2 separate regions of the Homo sapiens genome follow, and region 2 is linked to region 1. Evidence: promoter capture Hi-C in human tissues and cell types (Jung and others, 2019). All regions are on one chromosome and are shown on one strand. The core of a region is centred on a gene start or on the middle of the fragment in contact, and the rest is flanking DNA. Distances in the headings are between cores, read along the strand shown.

Region 1 (5,645 bases), core at 1,408-3,907:
CCATCCTCCTGCCTCAGCCTTCCTAGTAGCTGAGACTACAGGTGCGTGTCACCATGCCCATTTAATTTTTTGTAGATATAGGCTCTCACCATCTTGCCCAGCTGGTCTCAAATTCCTGGGCTCAAGCAATCTTCCTGTCTAAGCCTCCCAAAGTGCTGGGTCTACAGGCATGAGCCACTGTGCCCAGCCTAATTTGACTTTTCATTTGGAATAATGATGCACAGGCAGCAAAAAAAGATATACACATAATTGTTTAGAGATATTTAACCAAAACTGAGGACTATTTTACTTAGAGTGAGAATCAAAAACTCCCTCTAATAAAATTATATGATACAGGTTATTAAGCCAAAGCAGTGGCTGAAAATCTGAGTTCAGGGTACAATAATGTTTTCCCCAGTATTAAGGAGCTCAAATAAATTATCCTCTTTAAAAACCTACCCTGTGATCACTTGAATTCATCAGCCATTTAGGACCAGACAGAGAAGAGGGTACTCACCTGAGGCTACACATGCTCCGTAACGCCAGCCCTCGCACCATTGGATTGGGGTCTGAGCAGTCTTTGCACAGCGTATTGATGGCCAGGAGAGCCAGATCTGGTTTCAGGGGAGCATATGTGCACATGTACAGATAAACCAACTTCTTCTGGACAATATCTACAGTGGCACTGGCCTTCACCATTTCCATAAAAACACCAGACATGTCCAAGCCTTGAGTCATGTACCTGAACAACGCACATGACAGAAGGAAGTAAAATGCAAAATCCCCAACTTACAATGGAGGGAGTTTTACTTACATATCTCCTGATTACCCAACTAGATTGTGATCTCTTAGAGGGTAGCAGCCAGGATTACCTTGTCTATTATATCACACAGTACTTCATACCATAGGCCTACAATAAACATTATTCTTCTATTCATTCAACAAACACTTATTATTATTTTTGAGACAGAGTCTTGCTCTGTTACCCAGGCTAGAGTGCAGTGGCACAATCTCGGCTCATTATAAGCTCCGCTTCCCAGGTTCAAGCGATTCTCCTGCCTCAGCCTCCCGAGTAGCTGGGACTACAGGTGCGTGCCACCACGCCCAGCTAATTTTTGTATTTTTAGTAGAGACGGGGTTTCTCCATGTTGGCCAGGCTGGTCTCGAACTCCTGACTGCAGGTGATCCACCCGCCTTGGCCTCCCAAAGTGCTGGGATTACCAGCGTGAGCCACCGCACCCAGCCTCAACAAACACTTATTGAATCCCTAGTACTTTGGTGAAATTCAACTTTTACATCCAGGGACATGCTCTTGGGACATAATCTTGAAGAAGGTGTGGTCTCAAACCTCTAGGAACTTCAAATCTATTAATGAGCCAGATGAGAATACCGTTAATTACAGTATGATAGATAAGTACTTAAACAGAAGTATTGTACAAGGTGTAGAGGGGATTCAGAGGTCTGACACTGGCAGGAAGTCAGAAAATGTTTCTTCACAGAGGAAGTAATACTTTAGCTGAATGAGCAGGAGCTCACTAGGCAGATGTAATAGCAAGGTAAAGATACATGCTATGAGGTAAGTAGACATGAGCAGGAGCAGCACACATTTTTTTAAGAGTCTGTAGGTAGTTGAATTAACAGCTTGTTCCTTGGGTGCTGTGATAAGTTTGGACTTTATTGTTTCTCAGACTGGTCTCCTACTGGAACCAACTGAAATGTTTATTAAAAATACAGATTCCTGGGTTCCCTCCCACCCTACTGAAATCAGAATCAGTCCCTGGACTGGATGACAAAAAGCACCCCAAGGGATTTTTATGCATAGTAAAGTTTGTGAACCATAGCTGTAGGCAAGAGTTATGTGTTCAGGTATGTATAATGGAAAAATTCTGTCTCAAATGAGGCAAAGTGGCCTACTAGTAAGCTGCTGCAATTGCTTTATTGATGAAGGCCTGGACCAGAACAACAATGCTAATAAACAAGAGAGGATGGATATTTAGAATTATGAATTCAAACCATCTGACATAAGAAGTGAGAGATCAGGTGTCCTCAAGGTTGGCTCCCACGCATAGTCGGCTGCTGGTGGCATTCATCAACACAAATGTAAGCTGAACAGGTTTGAGGAAGACGGAAGAATGTCCGGGCTATTTCGGACATACTTTTGATAAACCACGCACGTGGAAATGCCAAGCAGGCAGTGGGATACGTGGGTCTGAAGCTAAAAAAGGAAGTCTGTACTAGCTATATTATAGATCCAAGAGTCACCAGTAATTGCTCAAGCCCGTGATATGGAGGAAACTACCCAGCTGAGTAAAAGATGCTGCAGAGGGGAGACTGACATGGTACTCCAAAGCAGCAGGACGAAGACCGAACCATATAACTGCCACGTGTGAAAGCTAATTCACCCTTTCAGAGAGACTGGGGCTAGTGAGCCCTGATGGGGATTGCAAAGGGAGCAGTTAGCACGCGAAGGGAGGTAGGTGATACCTAATCACTCGCTGGATGACATTCCGGTAGCGCAGCCTATCAGCTTGAATGTGAGGATTGCACAGAGCCTTCTTCAGCTCCTTCACCACGTCCTCGGAGCCAAGGTACGGCATCTTCCTAAGAGTCACAGGGCAGCTCCCACAGCTCCCACGGTAACTCGAGGGCTCCTTCTCGTCCTGATGTGGGAGCCTGAGTAAAGGAAATATGAGTCAGTGAAAATACAAAAGGCGAGATCTCGCCTCAGGCTCGGCTTCCGTAGGGCCGGCACGCTGGCCCTGACACACTTCCACGCCCTCCGCGACACCGCGAGCCCCACCCTAGGCTCTTCAGGCCCTACCGTCGGCCGGCAGGCCGTTCGCCCCGCCCACAGATCGCTCCCGCTACTTCTAGGTCCTCCGCCGGATTTCCAGCGCCGCGTCCGACTGACCGCAGACCCCTCCCTCTCCAGTTCCAGCCTTAATTCCCCCTCCACGCCGTTCTCATCGCGGATAGGCCCAATCTTGCTTTCTGCGGAAGTCCCGCCCCCTTGTCAAGAGACCAAACAGAAGACCGCTGCCGGTCTCCCCGCGAGCGAGCGCTAAGCGTAGTCCCGACTCCGACCTTAGGATGCCCTTCCCCCAACCTCTCACTCTCCAGGCGCAGCTGCGCGGCTCCCTCTGGTGGAGCTGCGGCGGGCAATCGGAAATCGGCTACTTTGGCCTGTCTCCTCCCTGCAGCGCGCGCTTTGAGTGCCCGGCTCGGCCTCCGCTCCCGCGCGGTTGGGAGTGTCCAGCGCCCTCCGCGATTTGGGCTCCAGCGGGCAGGGTGACTTCCTTTTTCTGCCCACTCTGGTAACTTATTGCTCTGCTGGGCTCTTTCCCTTAGGGTCTCTGGCCCTGTTCTTGCCCCAGCATGACTTTTATCGGGACGCCGTTGTGGAAGCCTCACGCAGGAGCCCTGCCCCCGTGGAGAAGATCCCACTGGTGACTCCAACCCTACCACCATGAATGGGGTCCTGATCCCCCATACGCCCATCGCAGTGGACTTCTGGAGCCTGCGCCGGGCTGGCACCGCACGTCTCTTCTTCTTGTCTCACATGCACTCGGACCACACCGTGGGCCTGTCTAGCACCTGGGCCCGGCCCCTCTACTGCTCCCCAATTACAGCCCACCTCTTGCATCGTCACCTACAGGTATGGGGCTGGAGTCGGTCTCCGAGAGCTGGTCCAGGCATCTGGGTTGGGACTTCAACCTGTCATTCTTGGAGTCATAGAATGGGGGCCACGAAAACTGATTTGGAAGTTGTTTGAACCCAAAAATGCATCTTTAACCCAGAATAGGAACGTGTTTTCGAAGTGACCAACTTGAGATAGTTAGCCATAAGTTGAGGAGATATTTTAATCCAGCCAAGGAAACTATTCCTACCTTTATAAGTAAGCTAGGCCGATGTTTCCCAAACTTGCCTTTTTTTTTTTTTTTTTTTTTTTTTTTTGAGACGGAGTCTCGCTCTGTTGCCCAGGCTGGAGTGCAGTGGCGCAATCTCGGCTCACTGCAGCCTCCGCCTCCCGGGTTCAAGCGATTCTCCTGTCTCGGCCTCCTGAGTAGCTGAGATTACAGGCGCACGCCACCACGCCCAGCTAATTTTTTGTATTTTTTGTGGAGACGGGGTTTCACCATGTTGGCCAGGCTGTTCTCTAACTCCTGACCTTAAGTGATCCGCCCGCCTCAGCCTCCCCAAGTGCTGGGATTACAAGCGTGAGCCACCACGCCCCGCCTAAACTTGCCTCATCTTAAGAATCCACCTAATGTGCTGGGTGGTTCTCCAGCTCTCTCCCCACCCCACCCTTAAGTCTCCAAGAGATTAAGATCAGGAGTAAGTTTGGGAATTGCTGACTAGACTGTTTGCTGAACTCTTTTTTTTTTTTTGAGATGGAGTCTCGCTCTGTCGCCCAGGCTGGAGTGCAGTGGCGCAAACTCGGCTCACTGCAAGCTCCGCCTCCCGGGTTCACGCCATTCTCCTGCCTCAGCCTCCCGAGTAGCTGGGACTACAGGCGCCCGCCACCACGCCTGGCTAATTTTTTTTGTATTTTTTAGTAGAGACGGGGTTTCACCGTGTTAGCCAGGATGGTCTCGATCTCCTGACCTCGTGATCCACCCGCCTCAGCCTCCCAAAGTGCTGGGATTACAGGCGTGAGCCACCACGCCCGGCCAGCTGAACTCTTAAATTGTACAAAGGGTGGGATGGGAAGTGGAAGGAGGAAGGGCAGATTGCTTGGGAATCCCCATTACAGCTTCTGCTCCCGGTGGCTCAGGATTTGGTCAGCTTTCCTGATTCATGTAAGGGATAGTCCCTGACCCGGGGAGGTAACGGAGAGGAGTCAGTGGTCACTGGGATGACTAACTGTTTTCTCAGGTATCTAAGCAATGGATCCAAGCCCTGGAGGTTGGTGAGAGCCATGTATTACCCCTAGATGAAATTGGACAAGAGACCATGACCGTAACCCTCCTCGATGCCAATCACTGTCCTGGTTCTGTCATGTTTCTCTTTGAAGGATATTTTGGAACCATCCTCTACACAGGTGGGCCTCTCAAGGAATCCCAGTGACTTCTCCAGACTAGATGTTTTTTTTTTTTTTTTTTTTTTTTTTTTTTAATGTATAGACTGGGGCCTCGCAGTGTTGCCGAGGCTGGTCTCAAACTCCTGACCTCAAGCAATCCTCCCGCTTCAGCCTCCACAGTAGCTAGGATTATTGGCACAAGCCACCACACCTGGCAGACTTTTCTTGAGCAGCCTTAACTCAATAGAAGTCTGGAGGCGCTGGAGGCCTTCTAACTTCATCACATATGAGCATAGTGACCCCATCTCAACTGATTTCCCACTGTTTTTTTTTCCTTCTTCTTTTTGAGACGGAGTTTCACTCTTGTCACCCAGGCTGGAGTGCAGTGGCGTGATTGTGGCTCACTGCAACCTCCGCCTTCTGGGTTCAAGTGATTCTCTTGCCTCAGCCTCCCAAGTAGCTGGGATGACAGGCGCCTGCCACCACGCCCAGCTAATTTTCGTATTTACTATTAGTAGAGACGGGGTTTCACCATGTTGGCCAGGCTGGTCTCGAACTCCTGACCTCAGGTGATCCACCTGGCTCGGCCCCCCAAAGTGCTGGGATTACAGGTGTGAGCCACTGCGCCTGGCCGATTTCCCACTCT
Region 2 (5,645 bases), core at 837-3,336, 380 kb after region 1:
GCTACAGAGAGCAGAGTGCAAGGTAGAAGTGCTTAGGCCCTAATTTAGGCAGACCTGCCTCCACCACTGACACTGTGACCTCAGGCAAGTTCCTTAACTTCTCTCAGCTGCAGAGTCCTTGTCTGCATAGGGTAATAGTGAGGATAATAGGACCCCTCTTGCAAGTTTGTTTTGAGAGTTAGAAATAATATATGTAACATGCAGGACACAATCCCTGACAAATATTAGGTATTCAATCATGATAGCTCTAAAGCCGAAGTCGTAACTCTGAACTACTTCATACTTTTAGAGTTACCTACATTTGGATAGCAAAAATTTGTTGTTGTTGTTGTTGTTGTTGTTATTGTTGTTTTTAATGGCAGATCAAACAGCTGGTTGCTAGCCAGGACGATGGGAGAGAGTTCAAAACCGAGTACTGCTGGGAGGGTTGACAGTCCCTTGCAACTAAGGCCTTGGGACTCAAATGAGTGCTGGAGCTCCCCCTGCAGGCAGAGTTGGGTGTGTGTTAGTAGGATGTGGGTACAGCGTAAATGAGCCACACAGAGCCGGCTTAAAACCCAGCATGCTTCTCTGCTTGGTTTGTGTTTTTCTATTAAAAAAATAGTATTACTTATTCAGCCAGATTTGCACAACATTTGCTAAAATTACTATATTTACTATACTTATATCACTATATTTGATTAGATGGCACATGATTTAGAACGAGTTTTTTTAAATGCCAATTCTATGAGCTAAATAGCTAGCTTTCTCATTAACCTTGGGTATTAATCAGTGCTTTTTTTTTTTTTTTTTACCCATTTCTTGGCTTATCAGAACCCAGTTTTCCATCTCTCAAAACCACTTGCATTATTTCTATGTCACAAGTATGGAACAAGCATTTATTGAACACTAACTCTGTACAAAAACATTACACTAAAAGCTCAGGAGAACACAAAGAATATGGACGGATTCCTACCCGCTAAGACCTTTTAATGTAGTTGTGAAGACAAAATATACACATATGAAATGGTGAAGTCACGAGCAAGAAAATGATGACATGTGGGCTTGTCCATGCTAGGGCGCATATTCCACACAACTCTCCACCCCATTCCCAATACTTAGCACAGTTTATGGCACAGCATAGGGACTTAACAGGCATTTAGTGAAAAACTAAATAGCATGATGATGACAGAGAACAGGGAACAAATACTGAATGACTATAAGAGAAAACCACACTTTTCTGCCTCATTTTTCTCCTTAACATTTGCAACCTTCTAACACACTGTCATTTATTTCATCATTTGTCTCCCCTCTTTAAATGTGAGTGTTCTGAGCAGAGAGTTTGCCTGTTTTATTCACTGCATATCCACAGAACATAGGTTTGTGTCTGGAACATCATGGTCACCCAATATGTGTGTGTGTGTATATATATATATACACACACACGTATATATATACACACACACACACACACGCGTATATATATACACGTATATATACATACACACACATATATATATACACGTGTACATATATTGAGTGAATGAGTGAATAAATGAATATTTCAGCCATAATTTCTTAAGTATTTATACATAAGTGATATTGAGATTCCTGAAATCTTGTGGAATTTCAGTGTCAGGATTAACCACAGGATGAAATACCAAAAATGTACCGGGTGTTTGTTACAGCTTTGTTTATAATAATGACAAATTGGAAACAATTTAAAAGAAAAGAATGGCTATATTTAATATTACACCTCTATAATGGAATCTCTATAATGGAATGGCACATCTGTATAATGGAATATCATAATTCCATTAAATATAGCAACATCAATCTATATGCTTTTGGAAAGGTTGCTTTTTTTCAGAACAATTGTGGGGGGCTAGAACAGAAAAAAGTCTGGAGGGATTTACACAGAATGTTATCACCAGGTGGCAGAATTAAGAGTGGAATTTTCATTTCCTTCTTTAAGCCTTTTCATATTGTCTGATTTTTTAAAATAATAATGATATGCATGCATTATTTTAAAATCAGAAGAAAATAAAGGTATCTTTATTTTTGAAAAGACATTGTCTGGGGCTTCTGTCTTGCAACCATGCTGGGAGTGTGGAACGACCTGCCTGGGTTCCGATGTGGTCCTGTGCTCATCACCTTCCCACACCTGCTGCCCTGCACCATTCCCAGGGGCTCCTCTGTGACATAAATTTTAGTTGACCATAACTGATCCAGCTAGTCTGGGATTATCAATTTCAGATGGTGGTCAAATTTAACAGCTAGTGGTTATTACAGAGGGCTACCTTTCCATCTTTCTTCTTGATGAAGACTGCCCTGGATTGCCAACTAAACTTTCATCAGTGATAGCCTGTGAACCATTGTCTAAAGTCCTGACAGCAAGGTTCTGTGCCCCTATCTTCCACCCCTAAGGGATCAACTAGAGAGGCCCATCACTGTGTTGATAAGAGGAGAGTTAGAGAGAAGCTTTGGCAAGGATGAGTATGTCTTGGAAGTCACAGTAATTAGGGGTTGGAGGGAAACAAACCATATTCCCCTTACCAGGGGCTGTGCTGGTAACATTAAGTGTCTTGCAGGCTTATGGTAAAAGTTCCAAACAACAACTCCTTCATGCTGGTTCTGGTTTAATTACCAACATTTGGAACTAGAGGTGAAACTAGGTATTCTCCTTTAGAGGAGAATAGTGTATAGTGTTTGCTGGTCCAGAGATCTGAGATGGTGCAGCCAGTGGGAAGGAGGAATAGCATGGACTTTTGCAGTCAAGTTATTGACTTTGAAAAAGGTCTTAAATTTTCTGAACTTAGTTCTTTCATCCACAAAATTGTGTTATTGATATATACTTTACATCATTTTAATGAATACAGGAGATTATGTAAGATTATAAAATCCTAACTAGTGCATGGCACACAGTAGGCATTAAGCAAATGTTAATTCTTCTATCAATGTCTATTATGGCTATTAAGAAAAGGGGAGAGGGACAAGATATTGAGATCCCACTAAGTGCCAGGCACTCTCCTGAATCCTGTGCTTACATCATGTTCTCACAACTCGGTATTACTGTGCAAATACCCACTGCACAGATGAGGCCCACAACAGCTAAGTGACTTGCCCAAGATCACGGCAACATGTGACAGAGCTGGTGTTCGAGTCCAAATCTGTCTGCTCCCAAATCCCATTTCTATAAACTATATTTAAGTTGTTCTACTTAGAATAAATTGTATGAGGTCCCGTTATTTTCTGGAGGGAGAAGTGCCAACCCTCTAAGTAGGTGTGGTCAAAGTCCAATTTTACATTAGCCATGAAGTTCTCTCCCATTATTCAGCTGGGGACTGAATATAAGTAAATAATGCTTGATAATAACAGTAGCTCACATTTTTTGACAACTTACTATGTATCAGGCCAAGTGCATTAGACTATAGGATTCTCATTTCATTTTCAAGAAGTCCAAGAAGTGGGCATTATTATTATCCTCATTTTACAAATGAGAAAACGGACATACAATGAAGCTAAGTAACGTGTCCAAACAGCAGAGCCCGGTTTGAGCGACTCGCCACTGAACTACCCACCACCCTGGAAAGATGCATCTTGAGGCAAGGAGCTGGTAGCCAGCCATGCAGTTCTCCCTCTGAATTCCTCTAGGAACTAAGCAGCACCTGTTCACAAGGTCCCAGGGGTGCCCATTCTCAGAGGTCTGTTCTCACTCCTCACCTTCTGAGACCCAGAGGTGGTGGTGAAAGCCCCTAACCTGTGAGGAAGAGGCTCATCCCTAGGTTTGGCCTTACAAAGACAGCAAAGGGCCAGGTCATTGGGAGCCTCTGAACTTGGGGTCAAGGCAAGCAGCAGGCTCAGAGGCCAAGGAAGGGAGCCCAGCAGGGGAGGCTGCAGGAAAAAGAATTTGATTGAGGCAAGATTTATTCACATGCTCTAAAGGAACATTTCTTAAACTTTCTGCGACCATGACTCACCAAGCAACACTGTTACATGTGGAGTAGCTATGCAGATTTTCTTCCACCAAAAGAAAAATCATTGTCAGATTAAGAAAAGACACAAACAAAAATAATACATATGGGCGACAGGAAACTTTATAAGTTAAATTTCACAACATGAAGAAAAGATTTTATAAAACTACATTTCAGTATTTTCCACTATTGTACAGTATAAAATGGTTATTTGTTATAAAATATGATTTATTTTTGCAAAGGCTCACAGCACACAGGACAGCTTTTCAGAGAACATCAGCATTCTGATAGTGTTGTTTAAGAAATGCAGCTTGTAAGTGAATAAGCAACAAGCCCTTGATCTTAGGTCTATACACACTAGCCACCTGGTTCTGATGCAGGACAGGCAAGCCCCAAAATTGGGGCTTAGCCCAAGGTTTTTGGCCCCATCCAGGAAAGAATTCAAAGGTGAGCTGGTGGTGTTAAACAGCAGCTTTTATTGAAGCAGCAGTGTATAGCAGCAGCAGCGAAGCAGGACTACCCCACAGGCAGTGTGTCCAGAGTAGCAGCTCAGAGGCAGTTCTGCCATCATTTTCGTACCCACTTTCAATTATATGCAAAGTAAGAGGCAGTTTATGCAGAAATTTCTAGGATGAGGGTAGTAGCCTCTGTGGAGTTGTCACCACAGCAAGGGGTGATAACTTTCAGGTGTTGCCATGGCAATGGTAAGCTGACATGGCATACTGGTTTTCATGTCTTATGGAGAAGTGCTTCCACACTGCACCTGTTTTAGGTAGTCCTCAATTTGGTCCTGTGTCTGAGCCCCACCTCCAGAGTCTAGTCCCACCTGCTACCTCAGTTCTGCCCAAATGACAGTGAATATTAACTTAAAGGTCCGAGACTTGTTAAAGCAGTGCTAGGTCCCTAAAACAGAGGCCTTCAATTTTTTAAAAAATCATATAACCGTAGCAGCAAAAATGTTGAACATACACTCCAATATAGTGTATTTACTTATCTATATTATTATCTTATTATATTGATGCATTTCTATTATTAGCCAATGTCTCAAGGCTTCATATACACTTAGGATGAGGTTTATCACAAATGCCAATGGAAGTAAAGGCACTGTCCCCTTGATAACTTCTAAACTTGTTTTTGTCAACATCTTGTCTGATCTGATTAGATTGTTATGGTTTCTAACCTCATGATATGTCTGACAATGAGCTTCTTTTGAATTAGGGACAGTGCCATTTTCTTGTTGTTTATTTGCATTTGCATTGTGGGTGTTATCATCACACTCCTTTCTTTGTAGAGCTCTTCTTAAGCCACTCTGTTTTGTGAGGATTTGTTTAGTTAAGACTAAATAATCCAATTTGCCCATCCTCTCAAGTGGCACGAATAAGCTACAATACTCTGAAAGCCAATGAGCGACTCGTCAAACTGTAACACTCAGTGTTCCTCAGGATACCCCTTGAGGTCTGTATGTGACATGGGAGCAACAGACAGACCAAGCAAGCATGCATGCATCAACCTGTATATTAAGTGAAGCTTAATTCTTTTCGCATTTTTAGATAAAACATTAGTAGCAGACACCTCAATATTTGCTTCCCATTTCCCCAGCATATCATTCTGCATTCTCTGGGCTGCCCACTCCCCACTTTGAGATATTAGAGGCAGTATCTTTATAAGACTCTTAGGGTCTATGTGTGTGGG

Evidence for each region. The method cuts DNA at HindIII sites, captures the fragments that hold promoters and counts their contacts. A contact is called where the count stands out against the background at its distance.
Region 2: a fragment that was not itself captured here is called in contact with the fragment with the promoter of AP4B1 in region 1 in 2 of the 25 tissues and cell types used here (mesendoderm cells and thymus).

The regions. Positions count from the first base shown.
Region 1 is chr1:113,902,142-113,907,786 of GRCh38, forward strand. AP4B1 (adaptor related protein complex 4 subunit beta 1) reads right to left here and starts at 2,658. Exons shown (of 10, transcript NM_001253852.3): 1 at 2,464-2,658; 2 at 497-721. The coding sequence starts at 2,576. DCLRE1B (DNA cross-link repair 1B) reads left to right here and starts at 3,185. Exons shown (of 4, transcript NM_022836.4): 1 at 3,185-3,634; 2 at 4,855-5,020. The coding sequence starts at 3,446. RefSeq lists enhancers at 2,294-2,353, 2,434-2,993, 3,024-3,073. The HindIII fragment of the contact is 11,361 bases long and covers 1-5,645 here.
Region 2 is chr1:114,282,515-114,288,159 of GRCh38, forward strand. No RefSeq gene overlaps it. Among named protein-coding and RNA genes, the nearest start is that of SYT6, 130 kb to the left of the region's middle. The HindIII fragment of the contact is 3,767 bases long and covers 204-3,970 here.